7 separate regions of the Homo sapiens genome follow, and regions 1, 2, 3, 4, 5 and 6 are each linked to region 7. Evidence: promoter capture Hi-C in 16 types of primary human blood cells and fetal thymus (Javierre and others, 2016). All regions are on one chromosome and are shown on one strand. The core of a region is centred on a gene start or on the middle of the fragment in contact, and the rest is flanking DNA. Distances in the headings are between cores, read along the strand shown. Region 1 overlaps LOC105372460 (a long non-coding RNA gene). Region 2 holds the start of CCDC106 (coiled-coil domain containing 106). Region 3 overlaps TTYH1 (tweety family member 1). Region 4 holds the start of ZNF784 (zinc finger protein 784). Region 5 holds the start of NLRP9 (NLR family pyrin domain containing 9). Region 6 overlaps LENG8 (leukocyte receptor cluster member 8). Region 7 holds the start of GP6 (glycoprotein VI platelet).

The links. Contacts are between HindIII fragments. The CHiCAGO score rates a contact against its expected background, and 5 or more counts as called.
Region 1: a contact is called between a fragment that was not itself captured here and the fragment with the promoter of GP6 in region 7, in 1 of 17 cell types (M1 macrophages). The highest score is 5.9, in M1 macrophages.
Region 2: a contact is called between the fragment with the promoter of CCDC106 here and the fragment with the promoter of GP6 in region 7, in 3 of 17 cell types (non-activated CD4 T cells, naive CD8 T cells and total CD4 T cells). The highest score is 7.6, in non-activated CD4 T cells.
Region 3: a fragment that was not itself captured here is called in contact with the fragment with the promoter of GP6 in region 7 in 1 of 17 cell types (monocytes); the score reaches 5.5 in monocytes.
Region 4: the fragment with the promoter of ZNF784 here is called in contact with the fragment with the promoter of GP6 in region 7 in 3 of 17 cell types (naive CD8 T cells, total CD8 T cells and total CD4 T cells); the score reaches 8.4 in naive CD8 T cells.
Region 5: the fragment with the promoter of NLRP9 here is called in contact with the fragment with the promoter of GP6 in region 7 in 2 of 17 cell types (naive CD4 T cells and neutrophils); the score reaches 6.1 in naive CD4 T cells.
Region 6: a contact is called between a fragment that was not itself captured here and the fragment with the promoter of GP6 in region 7, in 1 of 17 cell types (M0 macrophages). The highest score is 5.2, in M0 macrophages.

What each region holds. Positions count from the first base shown.
Region 1 is chr19:54,518,722-54,522,412 of GRCh38, reverse strand. All of the region lies in intron 2 of LOC105372460 (a long non-coding RNA gene), which reads left to right. Among named protein-coding and RNA genes, the nearest start is that of LAIR2, 18 kb to the right of the region's middle. The HindIII fragment of the contact is 2,017 bases long and covers 1,303-3,319 here.
Region 2 is chr19:55,646,073-55,649,824 of GRCh38, reverse strand. It overlaps CCDC106 (coiled-coil domain containing 106), which reads right to left and starts at 1,613. Exons shown (of 5, transcript NM_001370470.1): 1 at 748-1,613; 2 at 516-620; 3 at 241-417. The coding sequence starts at 778. RefSeq lists an enhancer at 148-197 and silencers at 1,258-1,387, 1,418-1,537. The HindIII fragment of the contact is 17,145 bases long and covers 1-2,558 here.
Region 3 is chr19:54,421,537-54,425,168 of GRCh38, reverse strand. It overlaps TTYH1 (tweety family member 1), which reads right to left. Exons shown (of 14, transcript NM_020659.4): 4 at 2,759-2,979. Among named protein-coding and RNA genes, the nearest start is that of TTYH1, 7.9 kb to the right of the region's middle. RefSeq lists an enhancer at 2,184-2,984. The HindIII fragment of the contact is 3,325 bases long and covers 353-3,632 here.
Region 4 is chr19:55,622,573-55,626,048 of GRCh38, reverse strand. ZNF784 (zinc finger protein 784) reads left to right here and starts at 1,483. Exons shown (of 2, transcript NM_203374.2): 1 at 1,483-1,565; 2 at 3,405-3,476. The coding sequence starts at 1,488. RefSeq lists enhancers at 1,103-1,252, 1,003-1,502 and silencers at 1,323-1,382, 1,453-1,502. The HindIII fragment of the contact is 2,172 bases long and covers 1,160-3,331 here.
Region 5 is chr19:55,736,249-55,740,050 of GRCh38, reverse strand. NLRP9 (NLR family pyrin domain containing 9) reads left to right here and starts at 1,649. Exons shown (of 9, transcript NM_176820.4): 1 at 1,649-1,956. The coding sequence starts at 1,677. It also overlaps the pseudogene RN7SKP109. The HindIII fragment of the contact is 10,494 bases long and covers 1,572-3,802 here.
Region 6 is chr19:54,451,110-54,454,975 of GRCh38, reverse strand. It overlaps LENG8 (leukocyte receptor cluster member 8), which reads right to left. Exons shown (of 16, transcript NM_052925.4): 2 at 3,594-3,686; 3 at 2,709-2,883; 4 at 2,224-2,325; 5 at 1,320-1,430; 6 at 294-546; 7 at 1-25. The coding sequence starts at 3,631. Among named protein-coding and RNA genes, the nearest start is that of LENG8, 3.8 kb to the right of the region's middle. The HindIII fragment of the contact is 1,697 bases long and covers 1,716-3,412 here.
Region 7 is chr19:55,036,929-55,040,277 of GRCh38, reverse strand. It overlaps GP6 (glycoprotein VI platelet), which reads left to right and starts at 2,014. Exons shown (of 8, transcript NM_016363.5): 1 at 2,014-2,075. The coding sequence starts at 2,042. The region is part of intron 2 of GP6-AS1 (GP6 antisense RNA 1); the gene reads right to left. It also overlaps a transcript of RDH13 not described here. The HindIII fragment of the contact is 26,016 bases long and covers 1-3,349 here.

The sequences.
Region 1 (3,691 bases), core at 1,062-3,561, 520 kb after region 7:
GACACAGGTGAGAGGTCAGGAGGAGGCACTGAAGACACAGGTGAGAGGTCAGGAGGATGCACTGAGGACACAGGTGAGAGGTCAGGAGGAGGCATTGAGGACACAGGTGAGAGGTCAGGAGGAGGCATTGTCTATGTTTGCGAATCTCTCTCAATATCTGTTTCACATTCTCTGTCACTGTCTAACTTGTTTTCTCTTTAACTATCACAAGTTCTCTGTTTCTCCCCCTTTCCTTCATCCCCTCCTCTGGCCCTCTAATAAGTTACTTGGTGTTTCTATGTTCTGGTATTTTTCTTCCTCTACTGGCGGTTTGATCAACAACCACATCACCCTGGGGAGTTTCCTGGGCACCAAAAGACCATGAATGGTCCAGCCACACTCACCTGTGATCACAATGTCCAGGGGGTCACTGGGAGCCGACCACTCATAGCAGGAGTGACTGAAACAGCCACAGCACCTATAGGCTTCTGCACGGGCAGGCGTTATAGGACCCATGGAAAAGACAGCCTTGAAGGAGTGATCCCCAGCCTGGATCATCCTACCATACTGCTGGGAATGTTGTGTGTGCCCCTCTTTGTATAAGATAAATTCATCAAAGGCCAGCTCTGAGTGACAGCGCAGGCTCACGCTGGCTCTTGCGTGCACCAGGGGGCTTGGGTGCGCTGAGATGCAGGGTTTTGTGAACAAGCCTGAGAGCAGAGACAGAGGAGTTCACATGAGTCTCCTTCCTCACCCCTCGCCTGAGACCTCAGGGTGAAGCTGTCCCTCGTCACCCCCAAAGCCCGTCTGCGTCCTTCCTGTTTGTGTGCGTGCATGTTCTCTCTGCGTGGATTCCCATTGTCTGGCTTGAAGCCATATGAAATGTGTGGTTCTCCTGGAAAATGGGAATTAGTCTGTGCTTTGAGAACTTTCAGAAAACACACTGTAGTGAGGAGGTAGAAATGAATCAGAGGTTTTGAAAGAGAAGAATGAAGAGAAGGTGCTGCTAATTATAGAACAAAGGAAGTCAGATGAAGGAAGTGTTTGGGAGGAACAAAACCACACACTCGGGCTTGGAGGGAGGCTCTGCTTTCTCTGAGGCCAGTTATCCATCTTATCAACACCTCCCCTGCCTGCTGCTTCTCCTGGGGTCATCCATCCCGAGACAGCCCCATCGGCTCCTCCAGTGAACCAAGGCAGAGACTGGAGCAACTCTCAGTTCCTCACGCTCTTCTGCTCCCCACACCGTGAACAAATCCAAACAGCTCTTTCCCCGAGTCCCTCCTCACCCACGTCCCCTGACCCATCCCCACAGTCCAAGCTCAGCTGGAGACTGAAGACATCGTGTCTCTGTCACCACATCAGCCTCCTCCCAGCCCCCTACTCCAGACCCTCACTGCTGCTGATGTCTATTAATTCTCATAGCCCCAAACTTTCCTGTTTCTGGCCCTGATCAAAATCCTTCCACAGGTCTGCATCTTCATCCAAATAAGACACAAGCCTTCCTGTTTGACATTCGTATTGCTGATGATCAGGACTGAGCTAAACTCTACAGCCCCAGAAAACACAGCTCTTCCCTACAGAGCAAACTCAGCACAGAAAACCACCTGGCCCTCCCCAGACACACACACACACCCTGAGATATTAACACATTTGTAGGCCAGGCGCAGTGGCTCACGCCTGTAATCCCAGGACTTTGGGAGGCCAAGGTGGGTGGATCACAAGGTCAGGAGTTGGAGACCAGCCTGGCCAATATGGTGAAACCCTGTCTCTACTAAAAAAATAAATAAAGAAATACAAAAATTAGCAGGGTGTGGTGGTGGGTGACTGTAATCCCAGCTACTCGGGAGGCTGAGGCAGGAGAATCACTTGAACCCGGGAGTTGGAGGCTGCAGTGAGCCGAGATTGCGCCATTGCACTCCAACCTGGGCGACAGGGCAAGACTCTGTCTCAAATATATATATAATGACAAAAGTATTGGCAAGGAGTGGCAGGTGTATACCATAGATGTTTGGGTAGGAGAAATCCTGACTTGTTGAGAATCATCCTTTTCTACCCTATCCCCATCCCTTGTACTCTTTTCCTTTTTCTCTTCTCCGTTGATGCTTTTGGTAGTGTTTCCATTTCTGTCCAACAGCTTTGTGACTCTTCCCTTAGGCAAGAACCTATAGAGTTCCCTACAGGACTTTTCTACTCGCCGTGTCCACAATGAAAGTCAATATTGCTGCTACCCTCTCCCCAGGTCTGCAGTGCCTTTTGGGTATCCCATCCTGGAAATCAGTTTACCATTCCCACAGTCATCTTCTTATTTTATTTTATTTTTTTGAGATGGAGTCTCTCTCTATTGCAGGCTGGAGTGCAGTGGTGTGATCTCGGCTCACTGCAACCTCTGCCTCCCGGGTTCAAGCGATTCGTCTGCCTCAACCTCCTGAGTAGCTAGGGTTACAGGCACCTGCCACTATGCTTGGCTAATTTTTGTATTTTTAGTAGAGATGGAGTTTAGCCATGTTGGCCAGGCTGTTCTCGAACTCCTGACCTCAGGTGATCCACCCACCTCAGTCTCTCAAAGTGCTGGGATTACAGACGTGAGCCACTATGCCCAGCCAAATCTCCCTCTCTTTTAAAAATTTATCTGGCCAGGCACCATGGCTCACACCTGTAACCCCAGCACTTTGGGAGGCCAAGGCAGGCAGATCACGAGGTCAGGAGATCGAGACCATCCTGGCCAACATGGTGAAACCCCATCTCTACTAAAAATACAAAAATTAGCTGGGCCTTGTGGTGCATGACTGTAATCCCAGCTACTCCAGAAGCTGAGGCAGGAGAATCACTTGAACCCGGGAGGTGGAGGTTGCAGTGAGCCAAGATCACACCATGGCACTCCAGCCTGGGCGACAAAGCGAGACTTCATCTCAGAAAAAAAAACAAAAAACAAAAACAACAACAAAAAACATGATCCACGTTTAATTGCTTTCTTTCCCTGAACACTCCTGGAGGTTTCTCCTATTGCCCCAGTGCGCAGCCCTTCCATGGTCAACAATGAAAATTTTAATTTAACCTATTTGGCTCAACCCCTCACTCCAGCAATTGAGAATAATTCTCCTCCTAAATCTTTCCCCTTGTTTGAGCCTGTAGCTTCTCATAGCTACTGATGCTTCCGAATACACTGCTCTCTCATTTGAGGATGCTCTCTACTCTTTCCTTCCCCTCTTTTCCTCTCTGGATCAATTGTCTATATTTTTGGTACCATCTGAGGGGTTTTCATGGCCAAGGGGCTTTCCTTCACTCCTTAGGAAAAGATAAATTGGTATCTCTTTTGCGTTTCAGCAGCGCCTAAGCTTCTGGTAGCAGAGTCTTATCAGTGCATTGCAGATTTCTCTGTCAGAGTCTGTCAGGGGCAGGAGCTGAGTCTGACTCATTTCCACATCACCTGTTTCCTATACAGGATGTGGCACATCAGAGTCCCGAGTCCCAGGAGATGTTGCTGAGTAAATATTTGAAAAAAACAAATGCCGGCATCCGTCCAGGCTAAGTCTGTAAGCTTGAGATGGGGAGCCCAGAACTTTGGAAAGTAAATCAGGGAATATGTCAGATGTCCAAGGACCTTCAAGAAAATGTTAACAATGATTCATAAAAACAGGTATTATTACTGAGCAAAGTTTATCAGGCTCTGTGTAGCCACAAAACTATGATAATATTATCATCGTTTTTA
Region 2 (3,752 bases), core at 364-2,863, 610 kb before region 7:
TGGGGAGCTGACGGAGAAGGCAGGAGGACGGGCCCCAGTAGACAGTTCATGGGGATGAGGCCCTGGAATCAAGTGAGGAGGCAGCTGGGCCTGGGGGCCCAAAACAGGCAGGGGACTAGCAGATAGGGCCAACATGGCAGGTCCCACCCAGCCAGCCAAACAGTGGAGCCTTGAGTCTGGGTGAGCGGGTACCCAGTAGCGGGACAGGGAGGCATGTGGATCAGAGCACCCCACACACACCTGCCTCCATCCGAGCAGAAGAGATGAATTTGTCCAGCTGGCACCGCAGGAAGTCCCTCTCTTCCTCCAGGTCCTCGATGCGCTTCTGCAGCCAGGAGTTCCTCTCCAGAGCCATGTGCAGCTGGGTCTTGACGCTGTTCATCAGAGCCAGGGCGGAGGACGCAGCCTCCGGAGGCTCTAGGGACACAGCGAGGGTGGGGGGACCAGGTCACACCCTGGGACTCAGGGCTTGGCTTCCCAGCTGACTCCAGTCCCTCCACACCCCCTCAGCTCACCCTCGAAGTTTCTCCGAGAGGGGCTCAGACTGTAAAAGATCTGTGGGTCTAGGTGGGGTGCCTCATCGAAGGGAATGGAGATCTCGAAGGTCTCATCGTCCTTCACTGGAGAGGAGAGGCCCCGGGTTACCCCAGAGAATTCCCCGGGCCTCTCAGGCCACCCCCCAACCACGGCAGCCTGGAGCCGACCGCACTGGGACCCAGGGTAGGGAAGGGGACCCAGCTTCCTCACTTGTCCGCCTCCGACTGCTCCGGTCATTCATGGCGCGGCTTCCTACGGACCCCAGCAGCCGAGGGCCTCAGGGGCACTGGACAGAAACGGCAGCCACAAATGGAGAGACGCAGATGGACTGGAGGGTCCATCCTGGGGGAGGTGAAGTGAGACAGGAGGGACCTTCTGGCCTGGACCCCTGGTCTGAGGGAGGAGGGAGCCTGGACCCCAGGACTGAGGCAAAACGCGCCTGGGCTTCAAACTCCTGGGCTCCTGGAGTCAGGGGCAGGGGGCCCAGCCGCCTAGGTCCTGGGGGAGAAGTGAGCTGGGGACGTGGGCTCCTGGGTATCGAAGGAAAAGGAAGCTGAAGCCCTAAATTGCTGGGTGCCCCAAGGGGTCGCCTGACCAGGGACACCTAGCCTGAAGGGGAAGGACCCTCTCTCATCGCGGGCCACTGCCAGGCCTAAGGAAGAGGCAGGTGCAGGGGGAAACTGCCCCAACTTCCCAGGGTAGGAGGAGGTCCAGCCCGTGCGCGCTGCCTCCTCTACCTTCGGGGCCCCCACACCCCTCCCCCGCACTCGCGTGGGCGGGCGGACCGTCCCCCGGTGGTGGGGGCTGGGCGCGTGCGCAGTACGGGGAAAGGTCACGCGTGGGGGTGCGCCCCCCCCGCCCCCGCCCTTTGTCCCGCGGGTGGGAGGGGGAGCGGTCGTGGAACGATTCCAGCGGGAACATGCACTAGGGCGGGGGTGCAAACGCGGCCACCATCCCCCGCCCGCGGGTGCCCGGGGTCCGAGGGGCCGAGGCCCCCCGCGCTCACCCACCCGCTCGCGGAATCCGGCTCGGGGACCGACGGCGGCGGCGCCCATGCCCGGCGCCGGGGAGCGTCTGCAAAGTGTCACGGGGAGCCGAGGGAAGCGCCCACCCACCCGCGAACAGGCGGGGCGGCAGGGGAGCGTGTCGTGGAACTGAGCGACGGAACGGGCAGGGACGCGGGGACTCGCCCAGTCGGGCCAGGCTAGCGCCCCTCGTTGAAGAGTCCCCGGGTCCAGGTGAGGCCCGCCGTTTGCGGCAGAAGCAGAGGGTCTGCACTTGCGCGATAGCCCCTTACAGCACTCCCCCGCCCTCCCCGAAGCTCAGGCAGGGAACATCACGAAATTCCCATCCTGGAGAGCTGGCGAGTCTCCGGGGGTCCCCGGATTGGGTGGCGGTGTGCCCAATGGGCCCAGAAGGCAGGAGAGTGTTTGAGACACCGAGAAAGTTGGAGCGAAAGGAGAATCTACTTTTAACGCTCTCTCAGGAACTAGCCAGCGCGGACCCCTCAGAGCTCCCCTACCTCCTACAGCCAGACCCCAAGGTTCTCAGGGATGTGGGGGCCAAAATCGGGGGAGTTACCCCTCTCCCGGAAAATGAGGGCCAGGAACACGCCACCCCCATCCCCATGTTGGTAATTAAGAGCTGGCTTTGGAGCAAAGCTAGATTCCAGTCCTGACTGTTCCTGCTCCTCCCCAGCCTGTTAACTCACCTGCAAAATGGGGAAATTACAAGCCCTTCTAAATTTATTGTGAGGATGCAGTGATGCGACACACAGAAGCTCAGCCCAGCACCTGGCCATCGTCAGGGCTGAAGAGAGGAGCGCTGCTGGTATTATTTGAGGTCAGATGGTGGGGTATGATGGCAGCCTCTGGGAGGCTCTTTCCCACTCTGGGGAGTATGAACGGAAGATTTGTTCTTCCTCCCAAAAAAACAGGTCGGAAGAGCAAATGAGGCCTAGCACAGTGCCTGGCACAAAATAGGCAAGAAAAATGAATGAATAAGCAGATGTTTATTAAGCTTCAGGCTCAGCTCCACCTGCCTCTCCTGTTCACCAGAAGCATCCAAGCTCTGGACTGTGGCCAGCCCTTATAAGAGCAAGGTCTTAACCCGATGGAGGGAGAATCTAAATGTCTGCACCGCCTGCAAAGCTGTGACCATGATCCTCCCCTCCCCACTTTACAGATTAACTGCAGCCTGGTCCAAAAATTCCAGGGGGAGCCATCTGCCCTAGATTGGTCTTTTCCAAACTACAGGTTCATGGGTGGAGAATTCAATAGAATAGGATGAAATCAGCAGTTTAAAAAAATATTTAGCCGGGCGTGGTGGTGCACACCTGTAATCCCAGCTACTCAGGAGGCTGAGGCAGGAGAATCGCTTAAACCGGGGAGGTGGAGGTTGCAGTGAGCCGAGATCGCACCACGCTCCAGCCTGGGCGACACAGCGAGACTCCGTCTCAAATAGTAATAATAATAGTTGATGGAAAAAAAAATGCACAAACTAAAGCTAACTATGGTAAAGAAATTTTTGTGGGCCGGGCGCAGTGGCTCACGCCTGTAATCCCAACACTTTGGGAGGCAGAGGGGGGCGGATCACGAGGTCAGGAGATCGAGACCATCCTGGCTAACACAGTGAAACCCTGTCTCTACTAAAAATACAAAAAATTAGACAGGCATGGTGGCGGGCGCCTGTAGTCCCACCTACTCAGGAGGCTGAGGCAGGAGAATGGCATGAACTCGGGAGGCGGAGCTTGCAGTGAGCCGAGATTGCGCCACTGCACTCCAGCCTGGGCGACAGAGCAAGACTCCGTCTCAAAAGAAAAAAAAAAAAAAAACTTTTGTTTCGAGGCCTAGTGCCCTGAGGGAGGCCGAGGTGTGTGGATCACCTCAGGTCAGGAGTTCGAGACCAGCCTGACAAACACGGTGAAACCCATCTCTACTAAAGGTACAAAATTAGCTGGGCATGGTGGCACACGCTTGTAACCCCAACTACTTGGGAGGCTGAAGCAGGAGAATCGCTTGAACCCAGGAGGTGAAGGTTGCAGTGAGCTGAGATCACGCCATTACACTCCAGCCTGGGTGACAAGAGCGAAACTCCGTCTAAAAAAAAAGAGGCCAGGCGCTGTGGCTCACACCTGGAATCCCAGCACTTTGGGAGGCCGAGGCAGGTGAATCACCTGAGGTTGGGAGTTCAAGAACAGCCTGACCAACATGGAG
Region 3 (3,632 bases), core at 766-3,265, 620 kb after region 7:
ATTGCCGCTCCCAATCGGGCTAGAGGCTCGCCATTGTTCCTGCACAGCTAACTGCCTGGGTTCATCCTGATCGAGCTGAACACTGGTCGCTGGGTTCCACGGTTCTCTTCCGTGACCCACGGCTTCTAATAGAGCTAAAACACTCACCGCAGGGCCCAGGATTCCATTCCTTGGAATCCGTGAGGCCAAGAACCCCAGGTCAGAGAACACGAGGCTTGCTGCCCTCTTGGAAGTGGCCACCACGATCTTGGGAGCTCCGGGAGCAAGGACCCGCCGTAACAACAGCACAGTGCCCGGCACGTAGTAAGTGCTCAGTTAATCCTCCTGCCATTCTCTGCAGGCCCCACAAGCTTGGGCTTCACTCCTTACCCTGGTCTCTGGCTGCTTCCGCCCAGCCTCGCAAGTGCTCCCCTCCAGCAAGACTCCCTTGGAGGCCCCTGATTTGTCTGTCGAGGGACTCCCAAGTGTGGGGTGCTTTCGCAGTGGTGCACCCGGAAGATATTTTCTAGTGATGGTGGGTCTGCCTCACCCTGGCATCACCCTTATGGCTCCCACCACTTCCCTGCCCTCGCCCAGGAGAAGGAGCTGAGGCCCGGCTTGTGCAGCCCCTGGGCCTGACCACAATGCAGAACCTGGACTTCTTCAAACCCAGGCCTGTCTGTCTCTTGCACCTGCTGCCCTGCGGGTGTGTCCTGACCTCCAGCTTTTTCAGCCCCAGTCGGCCTTCCCCGCTGGAGCGCAGCATCCCGGAAGGCCTCCCAAATCTCAGCGCATGCCCCGCGGGCAGGGCCTCCAGCTGACGTCGGATAAATGAATGAATGAATGAATGATTACTAATGGTCAAAGCAATGAGGACACCGTCATGGTGGCCGCTGGGAAGGGTGGCTGCCTGGACACTGCACAGCTCACTGCCTCCTCTCCTCCAAATGCCACCTTCTCAGTCCCCCTGATGAACTGCCAGACTCTGTCCCACCTCATCTCCCTCTATAATTTTCTTTTTTTTTTTTTAAGACGGATTCTCGCTCCGTCACCCAGGCTGGAGTGCAGTGGCACGATCTCTGCTCACTGCAAGCTCCACTTCCTGGGTTCAAGCGATTCTCCTGTCTCAGCCTCCCAAGTAGCTGGGACTACAGGCGCCCACCACCACGCCCGGCTAATTTTTGTATTTTTAGTAGCGACGGGATTTCACCGTGTTAGCCAGGATGGTCTCGATCTCTTGACCTCGTGATCCGCCTGCCTCGGCTTCCCAAAGTGCTGGGATTACAGGCGTGAACCACCGTGCCTGGTCCCCTCTGTAATTTTCTCCAAAGTTCTCATGGCCCAACACCTTACAATGTTTTTCTCTGCGTTTGTCCCTTGCTGGTTCCCCCCGGAGGACGCAGCCACGTGGCAGGGATTTCTGCCACTTGCTCACTGCCCGGCCCGCCACCGGGGTGACTACACTTCATATCTCTGCGGTGCTCTCCCTGTGCTAATCGTCCTTCTCAGCACTCAGATGCCAACTCAACAACTCGAACCAATTCAACAAGGGGGACGCTGCCCCGATTCCCATTTCACAGATGGGGAAACCAAGGCAGAGGTCTGCAAAGTAACTTGATTGCAGCCGCGTGGTTAGGGTGGGGCTGGCTGGCTTTCGAGCTCAGGTTCCTGATCTGTAGGTACGCTGCCTCTTTCACCAGAGGGTGCTAAATAAATAGTGCTGAACAACACTTTGAGAGGCCAAGGCGGGCAGATCACAAGGTCAGGAGTTTGAGACCAGCCTGGCTAACATGGTGAAACCCCGTTTCTACTAAAAATACAAAAATTAGCCGGGCGTGGTGGCGCCTGCCTGTAATGCCAGCTACTTGGGAGGCTGCGGCAGGAGAATCGCTTGAATCCAGGAGGCGGAGGTTGCAGTGAGTCGAGATCGCACCGCTGCACTCTAGCCTGGGCGACAGAGTGAGACTCCATCTCAAAAAAAAAAAAAAAAATAGTGCTGAACAAATACACATGTCACACGGATGAACGACTGAGTGAGTGGCCTGCTGGGTTAGTCCAGGAGTAACTGAGTCCAAGAGTGACTTGCTGAATGAGTGAGTCAAGGAATGAACGCATGTGTGAATAAGTGAGTGGAGTGACGTGGAGGGGGTGAGTGAGTGAATGGGTGAGGACATGGGTGTCAGGATGGCCATGGGGTCTGGTGATCTGTCCCTCCACAGTAGGTTTCTCAACCTCATCTTTTTTTTTTTTTTTTTTTTTTTGAGATGGAGTCTCACTCTATCGCCCAGGCTGGAGTGCAATGGTGAAATCTCGGCTCACTGCAACCTCCATTTCCCGGGTTCAAGGGATTCTCCTGCCTCAGCCTCCTGAGTAGCTGGCATTACAGACATCTGCCGCCACGCCCAGCTAATTTTTGTATTTTTGGTAGAGACGGGGTTTCTCCACGTTGGCCAGGCTGGTCTCAAACTCCTGACCTCAGGTGATCCACCCACCTTGGCCTCCTAAAAGTGCTGGGATTACAGGCCTGAGCCACCGCGCCTGGCCAGCCTCGTCATAATTGTCATGGTGGCTGGATCATTCCCTGCCAATGGGTGGGGAGGGGGTTCTTGTGCATTGCAGGGTGTTGAACAGTTCCTGGGCTCTACCCATTGGATGCCAGCAGTGCGCACACACTCCCCAGCTGTCACAACCAAAACTGCCTCCAGGCATTGCCAACTGTCCCCCCGGGGACTCCGCCTGAGAGCTGCCGGCACAGAGAGCAAGAAGAGCAGCGTCTCACCTGTACTCCTCCACAAAGGACACATTTTCAGCCACCTGCAGGGGGCTCAGGGGCACTCCCTGCCAGAAGGCCAGCCCCTGCAGCTGCTGGGCCGCAGCCTCCGCCTGCCGTCGAGCCCCTCGGGCGGCAGCCACCAGCTCCGTGCGCGGCTCGAGCACCTCCTCCAGGGTGGTCAGCTCTGTCCTCACCGCCTCGCCCAGCCTCTCCACCGTCTCCAACACCTGGGGATAGGACAGGGGCTGAGGTCTGGAAGGACATCCTGGGGGGAGCCCGCGGTCGAGGCATGGGGTTTTAGAAGTGAAGGAGGGGTGCATAGTAGCGGGTGTCTGAGATCTGGAGTCTGGGACATCTGAGGATTGAGTAAGGGAAGGGATTGGGGAGGGGCTTCAAGATCAAGTTCATGGAGTTCTGTGGCCTCTATCCAGAGCTCTGGATGGTTGGTAGCTTGAGCCCAGGGTAGTAAGTCCAGCCCCAGGACTGAGATTAAGTGTGGAGCTTTAGGTCTGAAGTTTTCATCTGCCTTCCAGAATCTGGGGTCTCAAGTCTGGGTCCCATGGTCTAGAGTCTGCAGCTGGACATGGAATCTAAGGCATGAAGTGGGGCCAGGCCTCAGCCCCAGGGCCCAGAATCCTGGAGCTGATGTCGGAGCTGAAGCCTCAAGTCGGGGACCTGGGCCTCAGGGCGGGGGTCCCTGAGCTTGCTTACGGGCCAAGAATCAGGTCTGGGGCCCTGGATCTGGCCCGTGGACAGGGGCTGGTGTCGCTGGTGCTTGGTTTCTGTGTGGCTTGGGGGTTCCAGGTAAGGTCCAGGGCTGGGCCTGTGTGTGAGGTCCTCAATTTGCAGCCAGGGTCGGGGGTTGGGTGGATAGTCTGAG
Region 4 (3,476 bases), core at 234-2,733, 590 kb before region 7:
GGGACCCACAACATTTAAAAATTTATTTTAGGCCGGGCGCAGTGGCTCACACCTGTAATCCCAGCACTTTGGGAGGCCGAGGTGGGCGGATCACCTGAGGTCAGGAGTTCGAGACCAGCCTGGCCAACATGGTGAGACCCTGTATATACTAAAAATACAAAAATTAGCCGGGCATGGTGGCGGGCACCTGTAATCCCAGCTACTCAAGAGGCTGAGGCAGGAGAATCGCTTGAGCCCGGGAGGCAGAGGTTGCAGTGAGCCATGATCATGCCACTGCACTCCAGCCTGGGCGACAGAGTGAGACTCCATCTCAAAAAAAAAAAAATTATTTTAAAATCAAAAGAAAAGAAGGGAAATATAGCTTTGGAAGACCAAGGCAGAAGGATCGCTTAAGGCTAGGAGTTCAAGACCAGCCTGGGCAAGGCAAGACAGCAAGATCCCCATCTCTATAAAAGAAGAAGAAAGGAGGAGGAGGAGATAATTCAGCCTAAGTGGTGTTTATCTTTATTTTATACCAACATATCACAAAATATAATTTCATATATATTTATGAATGAAATGATCATGCTTAGGATCATGTTTAAGTATCTCCTATCCTGCCCTTTCAAGAAAACTATTTAAAGATGTTTCCAAACTCTTCCATGTCTCTTCTCAGTGGTTTGTCACAATGCTTCTACAGTGCTACACAAAAGAAAGAGAAATGGTCCAGAGAAGTGTAGTGACTTATCCAAGGTGATACCACCAGAATGACTAAACGGGGCAGCTAAGAAGAGCCCCGTCCTTGATGCTGCTGAAAACCCCGCGTTTTTGAGCTCTTTCCTCCCAAACATAACATCAGCTTGCGGGTTTTTGCGTCCTCCCAGGACCACCTGTGTTGCTGTTTACTGAATATTTTTCTCCACACTGCCTTTTTTTTTTTTTTTTTTGACAGAGTCTCTGTCACTCAGGCTGCATGCAGTGGCGAGATCATGGCTCACTGCAGCCTCGACCTCCCGGCCTCAAGCGATCCTCCCACCTCAGCCTCCCGAGTAGCTGAGAATACAGGCATGAGCCACCGCACCCGGCCTACACCGACGTTTATAAACTTGGCGTCATTACGTTGTCATGAGCAGTGCAGAGGTAATCACAAAAACGTTTACCGTGGAAACAAAGCAAAGCTTCTTCAGTTCTGCTGAGGTTCCCCTGACAGCCAGAGCCTCGAGTCGGCCTGCGTTGGTTTAGAAGGAACGTTCGGATTTGTTCCCAGGGTGTTACAGGCATCCTAGCGCCACACAGAGCGTACCCTCGGAGGGACAGACAGGTAATTAGAGAGGGAACAACTCACATTCTCCCGGGCTCAGCCGCCACGCCCCGCCCCGCCACGCCCCCTGCTGCACCACGCCCCCTCGCAGCCCCGCACTGCGCCTGCGCAGTAGCTCTTACGCCAGTTCGAGCCCCACCCCCTTTCAGAGCGAACATTGGCCTTGGGGGCGGGGCTTGGGCACAAGATGGCCGCTGCGCGCCCAGAGGCCCAGAGTCGGAGCTCACCGACTCCGGAGTCGCGATCCCAGGAGCCACTGGACCTGGTGCGGGCAAGGAAGGGGCCTGGGCGTGGGGCTCGAGGTGGGAGGAGGTCGTAGTGTGGGGGGCGGGTCCGGGGCGTGGCCTATGAGGGGGTGGGCGAGGGAGGTATTTAGTGCTATGGCCCTGGGGGTGGGGCTTCTTGTGGTTTCGCGAGGGGCGGGGCAGGGGAGGAGACTATGTCATGGTGGGCGGGGTGGGGGAGGGACCTATGGGTGGTGGGCGGGGCCTGGATGGGGGCGGAGTCTGAGGACGGTGTTGTCTTGTGGGACGGGTTTGGGTCCAGGGAAGGGGGCTTACCAGGGATAATTTGCATAATTTGGGTGGAGCCTTGTAAGGGGCGGGGCCTCATAAATTCTAGGGCTAATTCTAGGGTAGAAGGTTGGGAAGGTGACCCTGAAAAACGTGGGGGATTATGATTGGAGCACCTATGTCGGGGTAGGGGATAATTCTTCAAGGGTCTTAGTGATGCTTCTCGAATGCCCAAGGGAGAATTTGGGGGTAGAAGTGGGTGGTCTAGGTGACTTTGGAACTTCCTCCACGTTACCCCACTCAGAATTAGACTAATTGAGGACATTCATTCATTCAACAAACATTTACTGAGCTCCTACTTCGGCTCTGTAAATAGAGAAGTGACCAAGACAGACAAGGGTTGTGTTCTTTTGGAGCCTGCAGTCTCTTGAGAGGAGAGAGACAATAAAGGAGAGTTACTGTGATATGTTCTATAAAGGAAATAAAAATTGAGCCAATTTCTATAAATTGAGCCAAGAGTAGGGGTGGGGCAGCTAAATTTAGACGAGAGAAGTCAGCTGGGTGCCGGCTTATGTTTAAGCTGGGGTCAGAGAGATAAGTGGAGCTACATCGCCACAGATATTATAGTGACGATTTGGGATAAGTCATTTGGAGCCACTGGAGGGTTTTGAGTGCGAAAAATGACTTGATCTGATTTACATTTTCAAAAGACCTTCAGGCTATTCCTGGGAGGTGGGTTACAAGCCAGCAGAAATAGGAACAGAGATGCCCTTGGGTTTTTCAATTTTGGAGGCGCCAAGTGATGGGGCTTTAACTAGGGTGGAGGACAAAAGGTGGGATCCATGATATATTTTGGACAGGAGAGGAAATGTTGATGAGGATACAACAGAATCCTGGAGGATGGGCCGGGCGCGGCGGCTCACGCCTGCAATCCCAGCACTTTAGGAGGCAGAGCCAGAAGGATCTCTTGAGCCCAGTAGTTGGAGACCAGCCTGGGCAACATAGTGGGACTCCCTCTACATTAAAAATAATAATAATAATTTTTGTTTGTTTTGCTGTCTAAGATGGAGTCTTGTTCTGTCGCCTGAGCTGGAGGGCAGTGGCATGATCACATCTCACTGCAACCTCCACCTCCTGGGTTCAAGCGATTCTCGTGTCTTAGTCTCCCGAGTAGCTGGGATTACAGGCAGCAGCCACAACACCTGGCTAATTTTTGCATTTTTAGTAGAAACGGTATTTGCCATGTTGGCCAGGCTGGTTTCGAACTCCTGACCTCAGGTGATCTGCCTACCTCAGCCTCCCAATGTGCTGGTATTACAGGCCTGAGCCACCGTGCCCAGCCAGAAATAATTTTTTTTTAACTAGCTGGATGTGGTGGTGCATGCCTGTAATCCCAGCTACTCAGGGAGATGAAGTGGGAGGATCGCTTGAGCCCAGGAGGTCAAGGTTGCAATGAGCCACGATCGCGCCAGGGCAACAGAGTGAGGCCCTGTCTGAAAATAACAGAGGAGCCCAAGCTTTAATAATTGGGGCGTGCTGGGGCGGTCCTGAGGCAGGTTCCACAGGCTCCTCTTTCTTCTCCTCTTGCCCAGGTCCTGGTGCCTGATGACTGCCGGCCTGGCACACCCCCGAGTGACCTCATCGAGATCCAGGTGGTGAAGGTG
Region 5 (3,802 bases), core at 400-2,899, 700 kb before region 7:
GGTGTTCAAAAATTCTTAGTCCATTTAGTGCTTTCTAGCTTGAGTGTTTTTCAATGCTGATATTTTATACTATTAATACTTTTTTGGGTAAGAATTTGCCAGGCTTTTTCTTCTTCTGTTTTACTTCTCTGTGTATTTTCTAGGATTCTCTTATAAACAGCATATAGCAGGATTTGTATTTATCCAATGTGAGTCTATATATTAGTGAGCAATTTTATTTCATTCATATGTGTTAAGATTATATTTAGGCTGGGCGCAGTGGCTCAAGCCTATAATCCCAGCACTTTGGGAGGCTGAGGCAGGTGGATCACCTGAGGTCAGGAGTTCGAGACCAGCCTGGCCAACATGGTGAAACCCCATCTCTACTAAAAATACAAAAAAAAAAAATTAGCCGGGCATGGTGGCAGGTGCCTGTAATCCCAGCTACTTGGGAGGACGAGGCAGGAGAATCATTTGAACCTGGGAGGCAGAGGTTGCAGTGAGCTGAGGTCATACCATTGCATTCTAGTCTGGGCAACAAGAGTGAAACTCTATCTCAAAATACATATCTATATATATTTGGTATTATTTTTGCCACCTGTCTTATTTTGTCTACCATATATTTCTACTTCATTTCCTGTCTTTTGTTGAATTGCAATGATTATCTGAAGGGTTTATAATACTGGGAACGTTCACTGCTCTGTTTCTGTCTGAGTTGTCTGCAGATGCTAACCTATAGTAAATCTAACTTTTTCCTTATATACTGTAATAAGAAGGCATATACCGGCCGGGCACGGTGGCTCATGCCTGTAATCCCAGCACTTTGGGAGGCCGAGGCGGGTGGATCACGAGGTCAGGAGATCGAGACCATCCTGGCGAACACAGTAAAACCCCATCTCTACTAAAAATACAAAAAAATTAGCCGGGTGTGGTGGCAGGCACCTGTAGTCCCAGCTACTCAGGAGGCTGAGGCAGGAGAATGACGTGAACCCGGGAGGCAGAGCTTGCAGTGAGCCGAGATTGCGCTACTGCACTCCAGCCTGGGCATCAGAGCGAGACTCTGTCTCAAAAAAAAAAAAAAAAAAGAAGGCATATACCACTAAACGATAAAAAAAAATTTAAATTTGCTTTTATGTCCTCTTCCTTTATTTTCATCTTCCTGAATGTGATCATCTGTAATTTTAATATCCGTTCATTTTTTCATTATCAAAATTGGATTAGACTATACTAAGGATGGGAAGGTCTACAGAGCAAACAAACTCATAGAATGCTGGTAGGAATGTCAGTAATTATATACACAAGGGAAAACCGTTGAGTGTTATGTAGCAAACATGGTGACCTGTGTTTGCTGTTTGACCTATAATTTATAAATCTAGAGAAATGTGTGCTTATATACACCAAACTACACAAAAACACTTGTTCCTGGAAGCATCATTTATGTCAGACAAAAACAAGACACATAAGTGGCAGTCAACTCTACCATTCACATGCATTTGTTTGGAAAAAGATGAAGCTTCTTCCCTAGATGATGTTTGGTGCAAGCTACGCATGATGATATCAATAATTTTGAGCTGCTTTCAGCTGCTGAAGCTTAACTCTGTAATCATGTCATTCTTCTCCAGGTATCATTTATTCTTTATTTTTGAGGATCTTTCTTTTCCCTCTGGAGACACCTCAGTTCACAATCCTGGGGCGATATGGCAGAATCTTTTTTTTCGGATTTTGGCTTGTTGTGGTATCTGAAGGAGCTCAGAAAGGAAGAGTTTTGGAAATTTAAGGAGCTCCTCAAACAACCTTTGGAGAAATTTGAACTCAAGCCAATCCCCTGGGCTGAGCTGAAGAAGGCCTCCAAAGAAGATGTAGCAAAGCTGCTGGACAAACATTACCCAGGAAAGCAGGCATGGGAGGTAACACTGAACCTGTTTCTACAGATCAATAGGAAAGATCTCTGGACAAAGGCTCAGGAAGAGATGAGAAGTAAGTGCTGGATGATGGGGCGAGGACCCATGGGGGAAGCCTGGGAACAAGGTGATAGCATTGTTAAATGAGTGGCCACCCCCTCCATCAGATGAGAATGTGTGTGGGTCAAGGTGAGAGTTGAAGGTAGGAAGAGTTGCAGGCCAGGGCTGTTCATATGTGGGCCAGCGATGAACTGGGGACAGATGGCGTCCTGATACCAACTGTTCACCTATGGAGTGTCTTCCCATTTTTCCACCCCAAGTGGAGTCGTTGTTATAGGAGATGAGTGGCCAGTTAGTGTCTGCATTGCCAGGTCTACTGAGATGGAATTCTAGTATGGTAGTTGCCTATCTTTTTTTTTTTTTTTTTTTTTTTTTTAGAGAAAGGGTCTTGCCATGTTGCTCAGGCTGGTCTTGAACTCCCAGGCTCAAGTGATCCACCTGCCTAGGCATCCCAAAGTGCTGTGATTACAGGAGTGAGCCACCATGCCTAACTGCCTGTCCTTTTTGACCAGACATGTACCAAGGAGTAGGTAGAATCTTAAGACAATCAGACAGCGTATGTCCCGGGTACTACAGGAAGCATTCTTGCGAGCTTGTTTGGAGGTTCTAGTAGGGGAGCACAGCTTCTCTTCTGCCCGCGATGGAAGGACCTTCCTCTATGGGCAAAGGTTGTCATCGTCTTTGACCCAGGGGAGACTTTCAGGACGGACGCATATGGAGCAGTGAGGGAGGAAGTGGACACCCACCCAGCTGGCCACATCAGCCGAATTAGCCCTGGGGCGACCAATGGGGTGACAGACATCACAGCCAGGTTGTCCTCACGTCCTGGAAGCATTCTTTCTGCATAATGTCTTTTCATTCTTATCACAACCCAGGAAAGGTTTACAAGTGAGAAAACTGGACAAAACAGTGTTCCCATGTGTTACATGACTTTTCCAAAAGTGACAGATCTGACTCCGAACCAGTTCTGCTGGACTCATTGATGGGGTCTACACCCTCCTCTCGGGGGATACTTAGGAAAAACTAAATATATTCCCTATTAGGTATCTAGTAATTAGCATTTGTTTCTGATGATTGTTATCTTCTCCCTTTACTTTTGAGTTCCATCAACTTCTGTTACGTTTACTTCTGTTTTGTTCATGTTTCTTCTTTGTGTTGGTAATTCTAATTTGAGACCTTATTTCGTATCCCCACATGCTTGAGGGTATTTTATTTGGTTTGGAGTTGCTTGCTGTGTTAGTTTTTTGTTTTTTTTTTTGTTTTTGTTTTATTTTTTTGAGACGGAGTCTTGCTCTGTTGCCCAGGTTGGAGGGCAGTGACATGATCTCGGTTCACTGCAACTTCTGCCTCCCAGGTTCAAGCGATTCTCCTTCCTCAGCTTCCCGAGTAGCTGGGATTACAGGCATGCACCACCACGCCCAGCTAATTTTTGTATTTTTAGTAGAGACGGGGTATCACCATGTTGGTCAGGCTGGTCTCAAACTCCTGACCTCAGATGATCCTCCTGCCTGGGCTTCCCAAAGTGCTGTGATTACAGGTGTGTGCCAGTTTTCTTTATCTGTGTGGTTCGTGTCTTTGACTTTTCTGCTGATTAATGTTCTATGTTGGCAGATGAAAAAATGACCGAGTCAGTGTCTGAACTGAGAGTTTCTCACTTGGGACACTGAGGTCCTAAATGTTATAAAAATCTCTAAGACATGACATGACTTTTTTCTTTTTTGAGACGGAGTCTCGCTCTGTCGCCCAGGCTGGAGTGCAGTGGCGCGATCTCAGCTCACTGCAAGCTCTGCCTCCCGGGTTCCCACCATTCTCCTGCCTCAGCCTCCCAGGTAGCTGGGACTACAGGCGCCTGCCACCACGCC
Region 6 (3,866 bases), core at 1,315-3,814, 590 kb after region 7:
TTGAGACCTCCAGTCCCAGGGGCGGCTGTGAGGGCAGCGAAAGCTATGGTTAGGCCCTTCCCCGGCACATCCAGGGGTCCCCAGGGGACGGGAGGAAGTGGAAATGCAGGGAGGAGCGCTCAGGTTCTAGAGGAGGGCTCCAGCACACATGTGCCTGGTCCAGAGCAGCCCCACCCCCAGCCTGGCGATCACAACACCCAGAAACAAGGAGCAGCACACACCACGGGCCTCACACCCAGGAGCTCTTATGAGGGCCCAACCGCTCGGACCTCCACGTAGCTCTGCCAACTTACGTTTCATGCGGTTCCACAGCTGTTGGCCCTTCTTGGGCTTGGCAGGTTCGGTGTAGGTGTGTGGCCCATAGGCCTGGCCCGTGGCGGGCCCCGCCTGGCTGTGCTGTGTGGCTGGAGCTGTCCCAGGCTGAGGGCCACTGTTCAGCGTGTGAGCCCCATGTGGGGGATTTGAGGGCTGAGGGGGCTGAGCCGACGGCAGCTGCTGAGGGGGAGCCTGGTAGGACATGCTCTCATCCATGCCGGGGACTGGGGGCTGCAGAAGGAAGCAGGCGCTGAGCACGGGAGGCAGATTCTGGGGCTGGCGAGTGGCACTCAGCCCTCGCTGTGAGGACGCAGTGGTCACAGCACTCAGCACTCAACCCTCCCGTGACCTTCCCAAATGTGAGTTCATTCGAGTCCTCAGTAACTCTGTGAGGTTAACATTTGTTAACAGCCCTTTTCACAGCTGACAAGGCTCCAGCTCAGAGACTAAGCGACTTCCCAGGGCCCTAAGCTATGAAGCGGCAGCTGGCAGCGTTTCAATGCTGGAGTAACAGCCACCGACAACACACCCACTCCAGCGCTACCATCTGAGCACAAGACACCCATGAGCACACACACTCATGGAGCCCAAGGATGAGGCTACCATCCTTCCCGCTTTCGAGAGCTGACCGAGATGCGTAATTACACCAGGGGTGGGACAGCTGGGATTCAAACCCAGGTCTACCTGCCTCCTGTGCACTAGCCCGGCCATTCCTCCAAGCTGCACATTCAATGCAAAACCCAGCCGGTGTGTGCACGCCTGTGGGTGACCATGCTAGGGAAAAAGATGAGATGTCTTTCAACATCTCAGCCCTGGCCTTGGCTCAGCCTTAAACCCACCCCAGGTTCAAACACTATGCTCTGTCCTCCTCATTTTCAGATCAGGAGTTGCTTGGAAGGAAAAAAGCAGCTTAAGGAGTACAAGCCATTCCTCATTGACAGCTCATTCAAAAATCTACACTTCCTCTGCTTGAGCAGGGTATGGGAGCTGGGCTAGGATGTTACCTGGTTCAGAGTCCCTTGGTGTTGGGGTGCGGATGGCTGCTGGGGTGTGGCTGAGCCATAGGAGCCGGCCATCCCATACTGGGAAGGGGAGCCATAGCTCTGGTACATGCTCTGCAAAGGCGCAGGGAGGGAGGGTTTAGTGGGAGGCCTACCCTTTCCGCTTCCCCAGCCTGCTCAGGAACTACACCAGCCATGACCCTCTACCAATCCCTCACCCCTTTCTCTCTTCACTATATTAATGCACCACATCCTCTCATATATTAGGAAAAGAAAAACCTCTATCAATCCCACATCTCACTTAGCTAGTTCTCGGAAGAATATAATCAACGATACTGAGTGCCAACTCTTCTAAGCACTACGACAGAACAAAAGGAAAACCCATGCTGTAATGAAGCTTGTGCTGGAATTACATGTCCGGCTGGAGACATCAACATGTAATACATCCAGCAATAAGGATCATGAAACAATAAGATGGCAAAGAAAGGGAGAGGGACAGGCTGCGAGGCAGGAATGCTACTTTCAATCAGTGTGTCAGGTAGAGGCTCTCTGAAGGCGGCATCTGAGCAGAGACCTCCAAGAGGCGGCAACACAGGGAGCACTGCAGCCAGGGCAAAGCGAGAGCGGGCCTGGCGGGTGCGGGCATCAAGGAGGTCTCTGCTTCGATGGCCATGGCAGAATGAGCATGAGGAGAGAAGGGACCAGAACCGGGTATGTAGGACCTTGTGGCTCATGGCGGGGACCTAGGAATTTACCTCCTGGGCAAGTTAGAGGGTTTCTGAGCAGTTATCACTGCGATCTCCAGTCCATCCACCACCCAGCCCCATCCCGGCAGACTCCACTTCACCTCGCCCCGACCCAGCAGACTCCACCTCGCCCTGCCCCGCCCCACTGGCTGGGCACTCACCATGGGATAGTAGTAGCTGTAGGGGTAGGCATAGTTGTACTGCTGGTACCACTGGTAGTACTGCTGCTGCTGCAAAGCTGAGGCTTCTGCCTGGGACACGTACTGTGGAAGCAGAGGCACATGTGCCGTCAGCAGCCCAAATCCACAGGCACACGGCCCCCAAAGGGCAAGCCTGTTTACTGGTGGCCAATTGCCAAGGGATGAAACTGGGTCCATGTATCTGCAAAGTGAGCCACTGTCTCTACCATGAGACTCACGCACGTTAGAGACCAGGGGCATGGGCATGGCCTCCCTCTTCAGAACCACATCACGCCCTAATTTCCTCAAGGAAACAGAACTTTTTCCCGTTCAGATTTAGATACCCTGGAACGTCTTTTCATGTTTCCCCTCAGAGCACCCCGTCTGAATGATACAACAGGACGCCAGACTGTGTCCCTCCCACAACCTCTGGCTCAGGGTACCCCAGCCCCATGAGGCCTTCTCACCTGTGCACTGGCCACAGGCCCATTGCTGCTGGACTTGGCAGAGCCGCCGGCAGCTCCTGACTTGCTGATGCTGGCCAGGGCCTGACGGGCCTTCTCCCACTCCGGGTTCTCGTGCATCGGCGTCTCCATGCCATTCTCTCGGCCTGCCCCAGCCACCATGCTGTACTGAGAAGACCTGCAGAGAGAGAGGACATCAAGTCACACCTGTTCTCCCCACTGTACACAGGTGGGCAAGTTGGGAGGCAAATTCCAGCCCCTGGATCCCATATCTAACTGTTACTACCAGTCTAAGCCTAAGTTTTCTAATCTGTACTATGCTGATAAAGGGTTTCTGCTTCAGAGTCTGCTGGGAGGGATAAATGAGATCACCTACTTAAGGTACTTATCCCAGAGCCTGGCACACAGCAGTTGTTAAAACCAAACAAACAAAACAATTAACAGAACCCACAGAACTGAACACAGGCCTTGGCACCTCCTAGGGCTATGTCTTTCATGAATCAATGAATTCTGTCTGACATCACCCCAGTCGGCAGGTTATCACACTATTTTGAGAAAAAATAAGGAATCAGCAGAAAAACAAATAAATGACTGTGTATTGAGTGTTGGGAAGCTGCCTCCTAATTACACTTGCTTGAATGAATCATCACAATTCTGCAAAGCAAGCGCTGTACTGTGAAAAACGAAAGCTCAGAGAGGTGAAAGCTTGCCCCTCTCCACACCACAACCAAATGCTTCCCTCTGTGTTTGCCTCACCACCACCCCCACCCACAGGGATTGTGGCATCACCTCCCCTAAGGCCACGGGAGGTCCCACCCCAGAGGACAGCACTGGGTCTTGCTTCCTCTTTCCCTCCCGACTGGCCTCCATCCCTCTCGCCTCACTAACCAATCTGTGCTACGTTGATCACCCACGTTGGCCGCCATCTGGACCTTGGGGTATAAGGGGTGGACCTCGGGAGCCAGACTGCTTTTTCACTGTCTATGAGAAAAAGAATGAGTTAGGGAGACTTAAGGGGGAGCTAAAAACACGTCACAAAGTGGGGAAGAAAAGTAGATGGACTCAAGAGAAGCCGGGCAGAAAAGGGGAGGCTGACTGAAAAGCCACTGGGGTCAAGGATCTGAAGAGTTCTGGGTGTGGACTAGAAAGGCTGGAGTGAGG
Region 7 (3,349 bases), core at 765-3,264:
CTGAGGCAGGAGAATCGCTTGAACCTGGGAGGCGGAGGTTGCGGTGAGCCAAGATCGCGCCACTGCACTCCAGCCTCGGCGACAGAGTGAGACTCCGTCTCAAAAAACCAAAAAACAAAAAACAGTCAATGGCATTAAATATAAATACATTTACAGTGTTGTGTAACCATCACCACTATGGATCCCCCAGACTTTGTCATCATCTTCAACCTAAGCGCTCCCTATTAAATAGTAACTCCCCACTTTTCCCAGGCCTTGGCAACCACCATTCTAATCCCTGTCTCTATGAATTTGACTCCTCTCGATACCTCAGATAAGCGGCACAATGCAGTATTTATCTGTCAAGTCCGGAATATTTCCTTTAGCATAATGTCTTCAAGGTCCATCACGTTGTAGCATGTATCTGAATTTATTCTTTTATAATATTTTTTATTTTTTGGAGACAGAATCTCGCTCTGTCACCCAGGCTGGAGTGCAATGGCGCGATCTCGGCTCACCGCAACTTCCGCGTCCCGGGTTCAAGCCATTCTCCTGTCTCAGCCTCCGGAGTAGCTGGGACTACAGGTGCCTGCCGCCATGCCCGGCTATTTTTTTTTTGTATTTTTTGGGGGTTTTACTGTGTTGCCCAGGCTGGTCTTGAACTGCTGAGCTCAGGCAATCTGCCTGCCTCAGCCTCCTAAAGTACTAGGATTACAGGCATGGGCCACCACGCCCGGCCTTATTTTTATTTTTGAGACAGTCTCACTCTGCCGCCCAGGCTGGAGTGCAGTGGTGCGATCTCGGCTTACCGCAATCTCTGCCTCCCAGGTTCAAGCGATTCTCATGCCTCCGTCTCCCAAGTAGCTGGGATTACAGGCACCTGCCACCATGCCCGGCTAATTTAACGCCCAGCTAATTTTTGTATTTTTAGTAGAGATGGGGTTTCACCATGTTAACCAGGCTGGTCTCGGACTCCTGACCTCAGGTGATCCGCCCGCCTCGGCCTCCCAAAGTGCTGGGATTACAGGCGTGAGCCACTGTGCCTGGCTGATTTTTATTCTTTTAGTTAAGGCTGGTTGATATTACCTTGTGTGTATATACCACATGTTGTTTATCCATTGTTGTTGATGGACATGTGGGTGGTTTCACCTTTTGGCTATTGTGAATAAAGCTGCTATGAACACTGTGTACAAATATGTTAGAGACCCTGTTTTCAGTTCTTTTAGGTGTGTACCCCGAAGTGGAATTGCTGGATTTTATGGCAATCCCACGTTTAACTTCTGGAGGAGCTGCTGGAACTGTTTTCCACAGCAGGGGCGCCATGTTACGTCCCTGCCAGCAATGCACGCGCAGTTCAATTTCTCTGCATACTCACCAATATCTGCTGTTTTCCATTAAAAAAAATTATAGCCGGTCGGGTGCAGTGGCTCATGCCTGTAATCCCAGCACTTTGGGAGACCGAGGCAGGTGGATCAACTGAGGTCAGGAGTTCAAGACCAGCCTGGCCAACACAGTGAAACCCCATCTCTACTAAAAATACAAAAATTAGCCTGGTGTGGTACATACCTATAATCCCAGCCACTTGGGAGGCTGAGGCAGGAGAATCGCTTGAACCTGGGAGGTGGAGGTTGTAGTGGGCCGAGATGGCGCCACTGCACTCCAACCTGGGCAAAAAGAACGAGACTTTGTCTCAAAAGAAAAAAAAAAAATACAGCCATTCCAGAAGGTGTGAAGTCATATCTCACTGTGGTTTTGATGCGTATTTTCCTAGTGACATCAGGGAGTTTATGGGAGCACGGGAACACAGACCAGGCCCCAGCAGGCGGACAAACGGTGCAACGCCAGGCTGGCCAGAGGAGATAAGCGCGGCTCCTTGGAGCTTGTGTGCAAGTCACTGTACTGAGGAGCCGGCTACGGCTCGATGAGTCTCAATTAGGAAAGGCCGGGGCTGGTGGAGGAAGGGAGGAGAGCATTCTTCATCCTCATCACATCCTGAGCCTGTGCCCCAGGCTCCCACCACTTCCCTCCCTGGCCACAGAGCTCAGGACAGGGCTGAGGAACCATGTCTCCATCCCCGACCGCCCTCTTCTGTCTTGGTGAGTCCTGAGGGTCAGATCTGGGAAATGCTGAAGGACAGGCATGGACTGCCAGACAAAGGATTTTTAAGAAATTTGCATTGGTGATGAATTTCAGGACAAAAAGGAACCTGTAAGAGCCCCTTCATTTGTTGGGTGGGGAAACGGGGGGCCAGCGAGCTGGCATTTTGCATGAGTTATTCCAGTGTATTCATGGCTGGGTCAGGAAATGAACAGAGTATCCTAGCATTGGTCACAACTTTGTTCTACTACACTGCAGTTGCCCCTTTTTTAAAAAATGTGGGCCAGGCACAGTGGCTCACGCCTGTAATCTCAACCTTGGGAGGCCGAGGTGGGTGGATCACCTGAGGTCAGGAGTTCAAGACCAGCCTGGTCAACATGGTGAAACCCCATCTCTACAAAAATTAGCCGGGCGTGATGGCGGGTGCTTGTAATCCCAGCTACGTGGGAGGCTGAGGTGGGAGAATTGCTTGAAACTGGGAGGCAGAAGTTGCAGTGAGCTGAGGTCAGGCATTGCACTCCAGCCTGGGCAACAGAGAGAGCCTCCATCTCAAAAAAAAAAAAAAAAAAAAAAAAAAAGGCTGAGTGCCATGGCTTACACACTTTGGGAGGCCGAGGCGGGTGGGCCATCTGAGGTCGGGAGTTTGAGACCAGCCTGACCAACATGGAGAAACCCCATCTCTACTAAAAATACAAAATTAGCCGGGTGTGGTGGCACATGCCTGTAATCCCAGCTACTCTGGAGGCTAAGGCAGGAGAATCGCTTGAACCTGGGAGGTGGAGGTTGCGGTGAGCCAAGATCACACCATTGCACTCTGGCCTGGGCAACAAGAGCGAAACTCCGTCTCAAAAAAAAAAAAAAAAAAATTGTGGAATTGATATCTGGACTAGGTATGGATTTAATTTGTCAGTATCCCCTACAGTAGTGGAGTAAATAGTCTCCTGATGGATGGGTGGCAGGTCGAATGCATTTCTGCTGCCTGATCTTCACTTGTGCTGGGCATGTCGAATGCATTATTTCCTGATTTCTTCAGAATTTGACCACTAAAGGGACAGCATCTCCAAAAGGCTAAGCAGGAAGAAGATGGTTGCATTACTGGAGATGAGAGGGTTAACTGTGAATATAAACAACCTCTCATTCATTATCCATCCATGGATGTATTCTTTTTTTCTTTTTGTTTGTTTTTTGAGATGGAGTCTCGCTCAGTCGGTCGCTCAGGCTGGAATGCAATGGCATGATCTCAGCTCACTGCAAACTCTGCCTCCCGGGTCCA